3 separate regions of the Homo sapiens genome follow, and regions 2 and 3 are each linked to region 1. The links are contacts of gene promoters, found by promoter capture Hi-C in blood cells and fetal thymus (Javierre and others, 2016). All regions are on one chromosome and are shown on one strand. Each heading gives the region's core, a stretch centred on a gene start or on the middle of the fragment in contact. The rest is flanking DNA. Distances are from core to core; before and after follow the strand shown.

Evidence for each region. The method cuts DNA at HindIII sites, captures the fragments that hold promoters and counts their contacts. A CHiCAGO score of 5 or more calls a contact.
Region 2: a fragment that was not itself captured here is called in contact with the fragment with the promoter of HACD1 in region 1 in 1 of 17 cell types (M2 macrophages); the score reaches 6.4 in M2 macrophages.
Region 3: a contact is called between a fragment that was not itself captured here and the fragment with the promoter of HACD1 in region 1, in 2 of 17 cell types (naive B cells and fetal thymus). The highest score is 7.7, in naive B cells.

The regions. Positions count from the first base shown.
Region 1 is chr10:17,615,598-17,619,733 of GRCh38, forward strand. It overlaps HACD1 (3-hydroxyacyl-CoA dehydratase 1), which reads right to left and starts at 1,777. Exons shown (of 7, transcript NM_014241.4): 1 at 1,486-1,777. The coding sequence starts at 1,742. RefSeq lists a silencer at 1,318-1,977. The HindIII fragment of the contact is 16,531 bases long and covers 1-4,136 here.
Region 2 is chr10:18,122,378-18,126,513 of GRCh38, forward strand. No RefSeq gene overlaps it. Among named protein-coding and RNA genes, the nearest start is that of CACNB2, 16 kb to the right of the region's middle. The HindIII fragment of the contact is 4,393 bases long and covers 1-3,930 here.
Region 3 is chr10:18,087,308-18,091,443 of GRCh38, forward strand. No RefSeq gene overlaps it. Among named protein-coding and RNA genes, the nearest start is that of CACNB2, 51 kb to the right of the region's middle. The HindIII fragment of the contact is 1,559 bases long and covers 928-2,486 here.

The DNA.
Region 1 (4,136 bases), core at 527-3,026:
GATTGCTTGAGGCCGGGAGTTTGAGACCAGCCTAGCCAACACAGTGAGAGGCCATCTCTATTTTTAAAAAATTAAAATAAAATATTAGGCCCGGTGCGATGGCTCACACCTGTAATCCCAGCACATTGGGAGGCCGAAGTGGGGGAATCATTTGAGGTCAGGAGTTCGAGACCACCCTGGCCAACATGGTGATACCCTGTCTCTACCAAAAATACAAAAATTAATGGGGCGTGGTGGCCCACGCTTGTAGTCCCAGCTACTCCGGAGGCCGAGGCAGGAGAATCGCTTGAACTCCGGAGGCTGAGGTTGGCAGTGAGCGGAGATCGCGCCAATGCACTCCAGCCTGGGCGACAGAATGAGTCTCCGTCTAAAAAATAAAATAAAATACTGTCAGGGCGGGATGGCTCACGCTTGTAATCCCAGCACTTTGGGAGGCCGAGGCGGGCGGATCATGAGGTCAGGAGATGGAGACCATCCTGGCTAACATGGTGAAACCCCGTCTCTACTAAAAATACAAAAAAATTAGCCAGGCGTGGTGGCGGGCGCCTGTAGTCCCAGCTACTCGGGAGGCTGAGGCAGAAGAAAGGCATGAACCCGGGAGGCGGAGCTTGTAGTGAGCCGAGATCCCGCCACTGCACTCCAGCCAAGACCGAGCGAGACTCCGTCTCAAAATAAATAAATAAATAATAAAAAGAAAAAAAGAAAATAGTAAACTTTTCCTCGCGTTTACATAAGTTAATACTTCGAGTGATAATGGGAAAATAACTTTTTTAAAAGGCAGTGCAATTGAGAAATGGAAAAGCATTTTCCCAACAGGTTTTGAGAAGCAGTTGACACAAAAGTCACTTTGAGAGCTCTGCGAAGAGCGACAGTCATTGTGTAACCTTAACTTGCAAAGTCATACTCAAAGCCAAAAATCAAGGTCCAGCTTATCAGCCACGGAGCCTGAGGCCATAAAGATGCTGGGCAGGAGCTCCACGCTGGGATAAGTGGGGTGGTTATTTCAAAATCGTCCCAAGTGACAAGCTCTAGGACGTGCTGTGCTTTAAAAAAAAAAAAAAAAAAAAGTCGCGGTGAAATTAACAGGGGCGAAAACTCTGCCCAGCGATCGCAGCATGAAGCTCTGCGCTCCCGAGACCATCGAGTGGCCAGGGCTGGGCGCTCCTTCAACAGCAGCGAAGGCAGCGGCGCCGGGGCAGCAGCCACCTCCCCCGCGGGCCGGCACCGCATTCCTGCCCGGTTCTATACTTAACCTCCGGCCAGCGCCCCGCCGTGCACCGTATTAGGCAATGCCAGGCGCGCAGGGCCCGGCCCCCCCGCCCGCTCCATTCAACCCCGGCGGTGGCCGCGGCGACAGCTCCCTTCCCCCACGGCCGCTGCCCGCACCCCCCGCGCCCCTTACACCCCGGCCCGCGCCCCCTGAACCCGGAACCTCCGCGGACCGCGGCGCGGGGAGGGCCCGAGGGTGCCCCGCGGCGCGCGTACCCCGCGGTCATGGCGATGTCGTAGAAGGTGAGCCAGGCGGTGGCCAAGACCCCCAGGCGCCTCCGCTCGCCGGGAGCCTCCCGGTCCTCGCCGGCCTCCGAGGCGCCGCCGTTGGTGCCGTCCTCGTCGCTGGACGCCATGGTGGCCGCGCACCTGGGGGACGTGGGAGACAGCGGCAGGAGCGTGGGAGGGGACCCTGCCCAGCCTGCAGCCCGAGAGCCGCTGCCCGCTGCCGCCGCTTCCGTCAGGCGCCCCATGTGCAGCGCGCAGGGGGCTCGGCGCAGCCAGCTCTACCGACCGCGAGGGGGAGGAGCGGACGCCCCCGGCCACCGCCCGTCACGCCCCCGCCCCGCCCCGCCCCTTGGGAGCGCGCGCCACTCGGGGGCCAGAACGCCTGGCCCTGGCACTGGGGATCCAGGACCCGCGAGCCCCGGCACGCTTTCCAGGCGGCGCTGTAGTTTCCGCTCCCGAGGAAAGTGCACCCGCCTCGCTAGCTGCGGGCGCCTCTTCATAGAGAGACGCCCAGACGCCTTGCGCCCTGGCGATGCGCACCCTGCGAGTGCATTTAGTGGGGACACAGGGAACGCACCTGAACTTGGCGTGGCTCTGCCCTGCCTGGCCTTTTGTAAGGCAGTTTCTCAATACGCAGGCAGGGAGCGGGATCTTCCCGCCACTCATTCTTTTCTTTTTAGAGATGCGGTCTCAGTCTGTCTCCTAGGCTGGAGGGCAGTGACGTGAACATAGCTCACTGCAATTTCGTGAGCTCAAGCAATCTTCCCACCTCTGCCTTCCAAAGTTCTGTGATTACAAGCCTGAGCCACAGCGCTGGGCCAAACATTCATTCATTCTTAAGAGCTTCTGGGGAAGAAACGCCTATTTCGCCCTGTTTCCCGTTTACTAGCGAGTCCAACAGGTCTTCCAACAGTGAGAAGACCGTCCCACTTGAGTGATTTTTTTTTCCTTTTTCATTTCTTATTTTTTTTTTTTTTTACAGTCTGGAGTGCAGTGTTGTGATCTCGGCTCACTGCAACCTCCGCCTCCCTGATTCAAGAGATTCTCCTGCCTCAGCCTCCCGAGTAGCTGGAACTACAGTCATGCACCACCACGCCCGGCTAATTTTTGTTATTTTTAGTAGAGACGGTTTCACCACGTTTGCCAGGCTGGTCCCGAACTCCTGGCCTCAAGTGATCCACCCGCCTTGGCTTCCCAAAGTGCTGGGATTACAGGCGTGAGCCACCGCACCCGGCCTCACTTGTGTGAATTTTACCGGAGCGTGTGTGTGTGTGTGTGTGTGTGTCTGTGTGTCTGTGTGTCTGTGTGTGTGTCTATTTACCAAGTGTCAGGCCTCTGAGCCCAAGCTAAGCCATTATATCCCCTGTGACCTGCACGTATACATCCAGATGGCCTAAAGTAACTGAAGAATCACTAAAGAAGTGTGGCCGGTTCCTGCCTTAACTGATGACATTACCTTTTGAAATTCCTTGCACCTACTGAAATACAACCCCCAAATTCCTGAATCCTCCCATTTTATTAGCTGTGTGAACTTGGACAACGTAACCTATCCATGCCTCAGTTTCCTTAGTGGAAATAATTTTTAAAAATCGTGAGCAGAGATCGCCCGTTGCACTCCAGCCTGGACGACAGAGTGAGACTCTGTCTCAAAAAAATAAAAAAAAAAGGAAAGGAAGGCTGGGTGTGGTGGCTCACCCCTGTAATCCTAGCACTTTGGGAGGCCGAGGTAGGCAGATCACTTGAGGTCAGGAGTTTGAGGCCAGCCTGACTAACATGGTGAAACCCCGTCTCTACTAAAAATACAAAAATTAGCGGGGCATGGTGGCGGGCGCCTGTAATCCCAGCTACTCAGGAGTTGAGGCAGGAGAATCGCTTGAACCCAGGAGGCACAGGTTGCAGTGATTTGAGATCGCCCCATTGCACTCCAGCCTGGGTGACAGAGCGAGACTTCTTTTCGAAAAAGAATAAAAATAAAATAAAGGGAAGAAAGAAGTAAAACTGTTTGCAAATGAGAGCAATGTGTTTCCTAGAAAATCCCAGGAATCTCGAGGAATCCTAAAAAAAAAAAACCTCCTGGAACTACAAGATCAACATAACAAAAATCAATTGTTTTTCTACATGTGTACACGGAACAACTGGAAAATGAAATTTAAAATAAACCATACAACGTTAATCAGCATCCAAAAACATGAACTATATAGGCATAAATTTCACAAAATATGTGTGAGACGTATACACTGAAAATTATAAATCATTGCTCAAAACTATAAATCTCTGCTGAGAGAAATGAAAGATCTAAATAAATAGCTGTTGCCTGTTCATGAATTGGAAGACTCCATACTGTTAAATGTCAATTCTCTCCAAATCCCAGCAGATTTTTTTTTAACTTGACAAGCTAACTATAAAATTCATGCAGAGGTACATAGGAAGAAGAAAGTTGGAGCACATATACATCTGGTTTAAAGACTTACTATAAAACTAGTTTTCAACACACTGTGGTACACATAAGGTGAGACATAGAAATCAGTGAAACAGAATCAAGTCCAGGGATAGACCCATATGTATGTGGTCAATTGATTTTTATAAGAAGCTAAGGTAATTTCCATGTGGAAAATATAATCTTTTCAGTAAATGAAATG
Region 2 (4,136 bases), core at 484-2,983, 510 kb after region 1:
CTGCAAAGCCACATGGAGTGGGGTGCTATTTGTGGGTATCCAAACCTAGGCCATAGCCAGTGCCCTGAAGCATTGAGCCACTTTGAACACTGTGGTTTTATTCATATGTGAGGGCTTGGACTACCTGGCCTGTTTAAAGCAGGCTTATGACGTTAATTAAATAACTGCCTTGATTCAACAAGGTTTCAGCAGACTGTTCCCTGTCCTTCATCTCCTACCCTCTTGCTCTCTCTCCTTTCTTTCCCTCCCTCCCTTCCTTCCTCTCTCCCTCCCTACCTCCTTTCTTCTTTCCTTCCTTCTTCTCTTTCAAAACATTCTTTTGGTTCATAGGTTAAAATTCAACTACAATGCTAGATGATGACAAAATGCTGCCATTTTGAATTCCTGTTTCTTTATCCATTTTTAAATTAAATTACTTCAAGACAGATCTCTAATATCAATAGCAGAAACGATTACACTCCAGTCAATACATATACATACATAGATATATAAACACACATATATACATTTCTTATCAATATTTGTGGCCAATCATCTGTTTAGCCTTGGGCAAGATTTCTTATCTTGCTGAGCATCTGTACAGTGGGGATAATAATGTGGCTCACCTCACAGACGTATTGTAAGGATTAAATTAAATAATCTGCAAAGCAGTTGCACAGTGCCTGGTACATAGTGAGCACTTAGTACATGTAAAACATTCAAATTGTGCATACATTTCATTGAAATATGTTTCTGCTGTTTCGTGTTTAATTTGTGTACTTGTTTTTGTCAACTATGATTTCTTAGTGAGGCAGGAGACTGGCAGGGCGTATTTCCCGGTCCCTACCAGATGAAGTGAAGAAGCCACTAGAAACCAGCAGGAACCAGCAGATGGCAAGGAAAGTGATCCCTAGCTACCCTCAATGCTTATTAGCCTAGAACACTCCCGCCAGTGCCATGACAGTTCACAAATGTCATGGCAACAACCTGGAAGTTACCACCCTTTCCATAGCAATAACCCAGAAGGGATCACCCCTTTTCTAGAAAGTGCTAAATAACCCACCCCTCCATTTGCATTAACCCACTCCTTAATTTGCATGTAATTGAAAGGGAATATAAGTGGTTATAAATACAGTTGCCAACAGCCCATACTGGGTGCACTACCTTTGAGTTAGCCCTGCTCCATAAGGAATGGTACTGTTCGATAAAAGGCTGCTGTCTAACACCACCGGCTCATCCTTGAATTCTCTCCTGGGCAAAGCCAAGAATCCTCTTGGGCTATGCCTCGATTTTGGGGCTCATCTGTCCTGCATTATCAGTATTCCAACATGATCTTTATCTCTATCATTGAGGAATCCTTCGCTGCAGTTTCAAGTAAACATAACCCTTGCTCAAACTGTTCTGTAATGCTAACATGTGTGATCAAAGGCACACTTCTGTGTTCTAGTCTAGAGGCGGGCTGTGTTTACCATATTCACTTACATTTACCAAACCCTTTGGGATTTTTCAGGACAAAAGAAAAGCATTTTCTATATTACTATTGCCATCTGGCATTTTGTGTCTGTTTTATTTCTATGGCTTCAGTGACAACAGTATATCACTCCTCCCAAAGTCCTTCATGTGCAGTGTGAAATCTAGTTGCTGAATATTATTAGGCTACATTAATTTGTAGAGTCCTTTGGGCCACTTGGATTTAATGTACTATATCAGCAGAAAATACCATTATTAGCACTCTAATTAAAGACATTTTATGGTGCCTTCAAGTATGATTGAGACATTTTCCTTAAGTATGCAATTCAGAGAGCTAGTAATCCTGGCATCTGGATGGCTTATAAGAAGAACATAAAATACTTCTAAATGTGTGATGTCTTTACTCCTTATATTCTGTAGTAAGAGATTAGGCTCAAGGAAATATTCTTCTATATTCCCAAATACATCAGCACACGTTATTATTGAACATGATAATACAGGTTTTAGATTCTCTCTGATACTTTCTTTGGAATACGATCTAAAAATATTGAATGATCTGGGAATCTATTTTCAGAAACTATTTCCTTTGAAGAAGGCATCTCCAAACAAATGGTAACGGAAAGAGTGGTTCGTTGGCTTTTAACTATTCTTCTTAAAAACATAGGATTTCAGAGCTGACAGGAACCTTGAAAAGTAATAAAAATTTACTCTAATTTCCTCATTTGACAGTGAAGGACATTAAGGTTAAGCGGCAAAGGCCATTTGTGTTTAAATCTAATGAGCCACAGCGGCAAGCTGTCATCTTAAAAACACTATCTAGATTACCATGGGAAACTGCCTATTGTGTTTTGTGATTTAGACATGTCACTTTTAAACTTTCAATGCCTAAAACCCTCATCTAACTGGAAACATTTTTCCACATGCTTAGAAAAAGGCAGAAAACAGGGGAGGTGGGAGAATCAATTCAGTACATCTGTTTACAATAACAGTACATAAAATCACCTACAGCCTGGCTAGTTTTACCATAATCATTGTTCATAGTGATGATACTTCCTGGGACTTCAAAGTCAGAAAATACTTAACTATTTTGAAAGATTTTTCAATGTCTCCTCAGTTTTCCTCTGAATTCAATAAATAAAAGTATTACATCCCCTGAGAACTCTGACTGATAGAGTTTTCTGACAATGGCTTTTTATTTTCAACATTTCATGCTTTAATTCTGATATACTTTAAAGAAGATGTAACAGGTAAAATATATAGCCAGAGTTACCCACTAAAGTCGGATTGGTAATTTTAACTTAACTATTTTTACTTTTGTTAAGTCATCACAAATAATTTTTTTGTGTTAAATTATAAACATAGGCCACATAAACAAAGGCCACATGCTTAGTACAAATTTTGTCCTGGCATCTAGAATAGGTTTTATGTCACCTGGGCCAGACCCCTTACTGTAGAGCTAGGATGCTGAAAGCCTTACCCATGTGGTCTCAGCTGGTAAGGGTGAGGACTGAGAAGAAAATTAGGCCAAATTAGTCTCCAGATTAGCACTTGCAAAAATTGGTCAAGACAGCTTAATCATTTCAACTTTCTATTTTCCCCAAATTATTTTCTGAAAAATTACCTACTTTACTAATTGTCCACTTTAAATCTGTGATAGTTCTAAGAATGATATACTGAAAGCTGTATTCAGTGAGCCAGAGTTCTATATAACAGCCAAATGCTTTTTTCTGGCCTATCTGGAATATTCTATAACTCAACTATTGTGGGGAGACTTAGAAATTTCAATTTTATTAACTTTTCTATGACCAAGAATAAAAAAAAAAGGCTAGATTTGTATGGCCTAATTTGGTGAGACAAATGAAAGCAAAACACTACTAACTTAGCTAATAATTTGGGAAAGCCCAGTTCTACAATTGCAAATGTGTCTTGCTTTGAGATGCATAGGGCAGTTTCTCTCCCTTCCCAAATTATCAGGATGCTAAATGAACAATTATTTATAAATTACATGTATTTATTTTTTATCACTTGTAGGTAGTTCTGACAGAAAACTGGATCTGCACAGTAATGAAAGCATTTATCCTACAAAACACTTTATGTCATATTAAACAGAAAAATAATTGTTCCGAATAATCAAGAAGGTATTATTAAAGTAGGCTTCTGTCCTTTTCCAAAAATATGAAGGTTGTTATATGAACACTGTCATGGACCTATTTCCATGAGTTTACATATTTCTAGGTTATAGGAATAATAATAACATGATCTAGGCTACCCATACTATAAACTAAGATTTAAATTATAAAGATAATAGGTTTAAATTGCTTCAGAATGCAGATGAATGGTCTTATTATAATAGGGCTGACCTTGAAGCAGCTATAATATTTAAAATAATTAAACTAGAAATGGAAAGGAATTTCCTCAGTACGATAAGAAGCATTTATGAAAACCCATAGCTAACAGCATACTCAATGGTGAAAGACTGAAAGCTTTTGCATTAAGATCAGAAAAAAGACAAAGATGCCCACTCTCGCCACTTCTATTCAACATTATATTTGAGTCTAAGCCAGAGCAGTTTGGCAAGAAAAAGAAATATGAAGCATCCAAATCAGGAAAGAAGAGCAAAGTTATCTGTTTGCCAATAACATGATCATATATATAAAAACTCCTGAAGAATCTGTAAACTAATGGAG
Region 3 (4,136 bases), core at 457-2,956, 470 kb after region 1:
CAGAGCAGGACACCCTATCACAGGCACTTAATTTAATGTGGAAACCCAGCTGTTACTTTCTCTGAAACTTTTAGTAACTATTAAGGAAGGTGAAGTGGCAGAATTGGAACCTGAACTATGGTTCATAACTCTGGGCTGAAACTGTTTTCGGAAGAAAGCTCTTGGGTTGGTTGAAAAGATAACTCATGACATGGCGGACAGCCCCAAAACCTAGAGCCAGAAAACATGGAATGCTTCAAACAAACAAAGCCCAGCCTCTTCTTCAATCTGTTGCTTGTTGGTCCTTGGCCAGAGGAAGAAATGTGGGACTCCTGGGAATTGTGCCCAGTGCAAGAGTTCAAAGCTCCCTTTTGGAACGGATTCTGAGTACCAGCAGATAAAAGGCCATCCTCATTTTAGAAAAGACTTGGGCCGCTTTACTCAGTGGCCTGATCTCGAAATATTCCAGAATGTGCTGGTCTCCCTGTACCTATTGTCCATGTCTGTTTCCTTTAGTCATCAGCTTTCCTCAGGCTGTATTTTGGGTGGGCTTAAAAAAATATAATAGCTTTAGAAATTACATAGTAGTTAGAATGAAGATTTTATGTAGAAAGAGCAGTTTATATAAACTCCCAGCATGAAAGTTACCCCAAATGATAGGATTCTGACTTGGTGCATTTGCAGAATTTCAGACTGGATTACTGGTTTTGAAATGAATCAAGTTGTGTGACGGCAAAGTAAAATTTCTTCATCCAAAGTGAACTTGATATCTCCAGAGATTCCCCTGACTTTGCCTCCTTTCTTTAAATATAGACAAAATACAATAATAATCTATCACTCAGCATTTGGTTTTTAAAGTTTATGAGCAACAGTAGAATAATATGGGAGAGAATTCAAGTGATTCTTTGTGTATTAATGAGGGTGAAGGAATATAATACGACAACTGGAAGCTTTGTCCTTTAATTGGTATTGTGTAAGCTCCTGGGGGAGTTACTATGTTTCCCTCAGGAACATAGTAATTGTATTCATTTTTGAACACAAGGATCATTTTCTCAGTGGATTACTTTCCCAGAGCCTAGCACAGTGCCAGGCAAGTTGTAAGTGTTCACTGTCTATTGAAAGAATGAATACGTTGTGAATAGTGCCGCAACAAACATATGTGTGCATGTGTCTTTATAGCAGCATGACTTATAATCCTTTGGGTATATAACCAGTAATGGGATGGCTGGGTCAAATGGTATTTCTAGTTCTAGATCCCTGAGGAATCGCCACACTGACTTCCACAATGGTTGAACTAGTTTACAGTCCCACCAACAGTGTAAAAGTGTTTCTATTTCTCCACATCCTCTCCAGCACCTATTGTTTCCTGACTTTTTAATAATCTCCATTCTAACTGGTGTGAGATGGTATCTCCTTGTGGTTTTGATTTGCATTTCTCTGATGGCCAGTGATGATGAGCATTTTTTCATGTGTCTTTTGGCTGCATAAATGTCTTCTTTTGAGAAGTGTCTGTTCATATCCTTTGCCCACTTTGTGATGAGGTTTTTTTTCTTGTAAATTTGTTTGAGTTCTTTGTAGATTCTGGATATTGCAGCACTATTCACAATAGCAAAGACTTGGAACCAACCCAAATGTCCAACAATGATAGACTGGATTAAGAAAATGTGGCACATATACACCATGGAATACTATGCAGTCATAAAAAAGGATGAGTTCATGTCCTTTGTAAGGACATAGATGAAGCTGGAAACCATCATTCTCAGCAAACTATGGCAAGGACAAAAAACCAAACACCGCATGTTCTCACTCATAGGTGGGAATTGAACAATGAGAACACATGGACACAGGAAGGGGAACATCACACACTGGGGCCTGTTGTGTGGTGGGGAGCGGGGGAGGGATAGCATTAGAAGATATACCTAATGTAAATGATGAGTTAATGGGTGCAGCACACCAACATGGCACATGTATACATATGTAACAAACCTGCACGTTGTGCACATGTACCCTAGAACTTAAAGTATAATAATAATAAAAAAGAATGAATACATGAAAGAATACTTTTTAGTATAATCTTTTAGGGACTATAAGAGAAAAAAATCCTTATGGTATTTTAAAACAGTATTGGAACGGCTACATATTTGGAAAGTTCAGATAGATCACTAATGGAGAAACTGTCTAGTAACCCAGTGAGCAGTTGGGTTGGGAGAATTGGTTGTGAGTTTGGAAGAGACAGAGAATGAGGTACACAATATAATTTGAGTCACAGTTCATTGAGGCCTGACAAGAAATGGGAAATGGAATAGATTGAGTGTGGTCACATGATATCTACGGACTATTGGGAAAATATTGAAAGCTCCTAAATAGGGACAAGTCAGAAAAGCTGAGTTTCATTTCATGGACTTTCTTGGGCAAATATACATGGGAATGCATGTTTGGGGTTAGTTCAACATATTTTTTAGTTTTGAGACCTTAGCTAAAGATTCCCCCAGAACTCCTGAAAAATAAGCTTGCACTGACTAGTATTCTGAGCCTGCACAGGTTTGAGACTTATATTCTTATTTGCTTTTTTTTTTTTTCCATGCTTGTTAAAACTGGCAACATCAACTACTTGGGCTCCTCTAAGCAGACCTTAGCCCAGGCAGCCTGGCATGGGCCCCCATCTGGCAGTGGCCACAACCTGCCTGGATGTCCCATCTGCTAATAGATGGACCTGACAAGCAAGTTCAGGCCTGTGTATCTCAGATATCATTCGTTGTTTACCATATTGTGACTGGCTTGGGTCCATCGTCATCCATGCTCAGTGAACTGGTCACTCCTGGGGTTCTATATGTTTAAGATCTGAGGTCTATACTTGCATGAAGGATGTGGACCTTAAAATTAACCGAAACACAAGTTCAGTTGCTCGCTGCTTACAAACTCCAATTAGCAAGAGCAAGGTCTGGTATAAAGAAAGTGACTTTTTATTCCGTAGTTAGCTTAGGAGAAGCAGCACAGGCTTCCTGCCTGAAAGGTCCTGCTTCACTTTTGGAGCAGAAAGTGGGTGCCTTTAACGGGGAAAGCCTGGCATTAATGGCATACAGAGGCGGAATCAAGCAGGTGGAGAGTCCACATATCGGCGTCAGGCCCTATCTGCCAGGTGGTCAAGCGGGTGACTTTTGGTGCCTTCCTGGGCAGGACTAGGTTGTAAACGTGGCTGAAAACTCTCCAGGTGGGAGAGTCTTGTAGTGGGTATACTTTGGGTTGTAGATGGACTGGTTTTTTTTTTTGTTTTTTTGTTTTTTTGAGACAGTCTTGCTCTGTCACCCAGGCTGGAGTGCAATGGCGTGATTTTGGCTCACTGCCACCTCCATCTCCTGGGTTCAAGCAATTCTCCTGCCTCAGCCTCCCGAGTAGCTGGGATTACACGCATGCGCCACCATGCCTAGCTAATTTTTGTCTTTTTAGTAGAGATGGGGTTTCACCATGTTGGCCAGTTTGGTCTCGAACTCTTTACCTCAGGTGATCCACCCGCCTCGGCCTCCCTAAGTGCTGGTATTACAGGCATGAGCCACCGCGCCCGGCCTGGACTGTTGTTTCTTGGGGCAACCTCCTGGTGGGTGAGAGTTCCACTTTGGGACTTCCAAGCACGTGGTTAGATAAACTCACCCTGAAGGGAGTATCTGGTGAAGGGGAGGTAAAAGGCTATAACTGCCTTTCCAAAGAGCTAAGTAGGCACTGGGATAAACGAGGAAAAAGAAAGGAAGAGAGAGAAAAAATATAAACTATCTCTTAGAAAAATGGGATTATTTGGTTACAAAAAGTCATGCTTTGCCAGGGCCTACTTATGTCTTGTTGGAAGAAATTGTGAGGGGGACAGTGATATTGGGAGGGTCCACAGTAACCCTGAGGAGTCATTGTAAAGGGCAATTTTCCGGAATATTTTATATTGGCATCCTTGAGATTTGGGTCACTAGTTCCAAAGTCATTTTCATTTATTTTTGTATTTGACCACTATTAAAATTTCTATTTCTTTTCCTCTTTATATCACACTCCCCTTTATACCAAGGCATTTTATTCACTTTCAAAATCTTTTTGTCCTCTGTGAACATTCTCACTCTAATCAGAGTCCCTTGGGATGCACTGACTGCCTGCTCTGAGCTCAGGGCTGTGCTGGA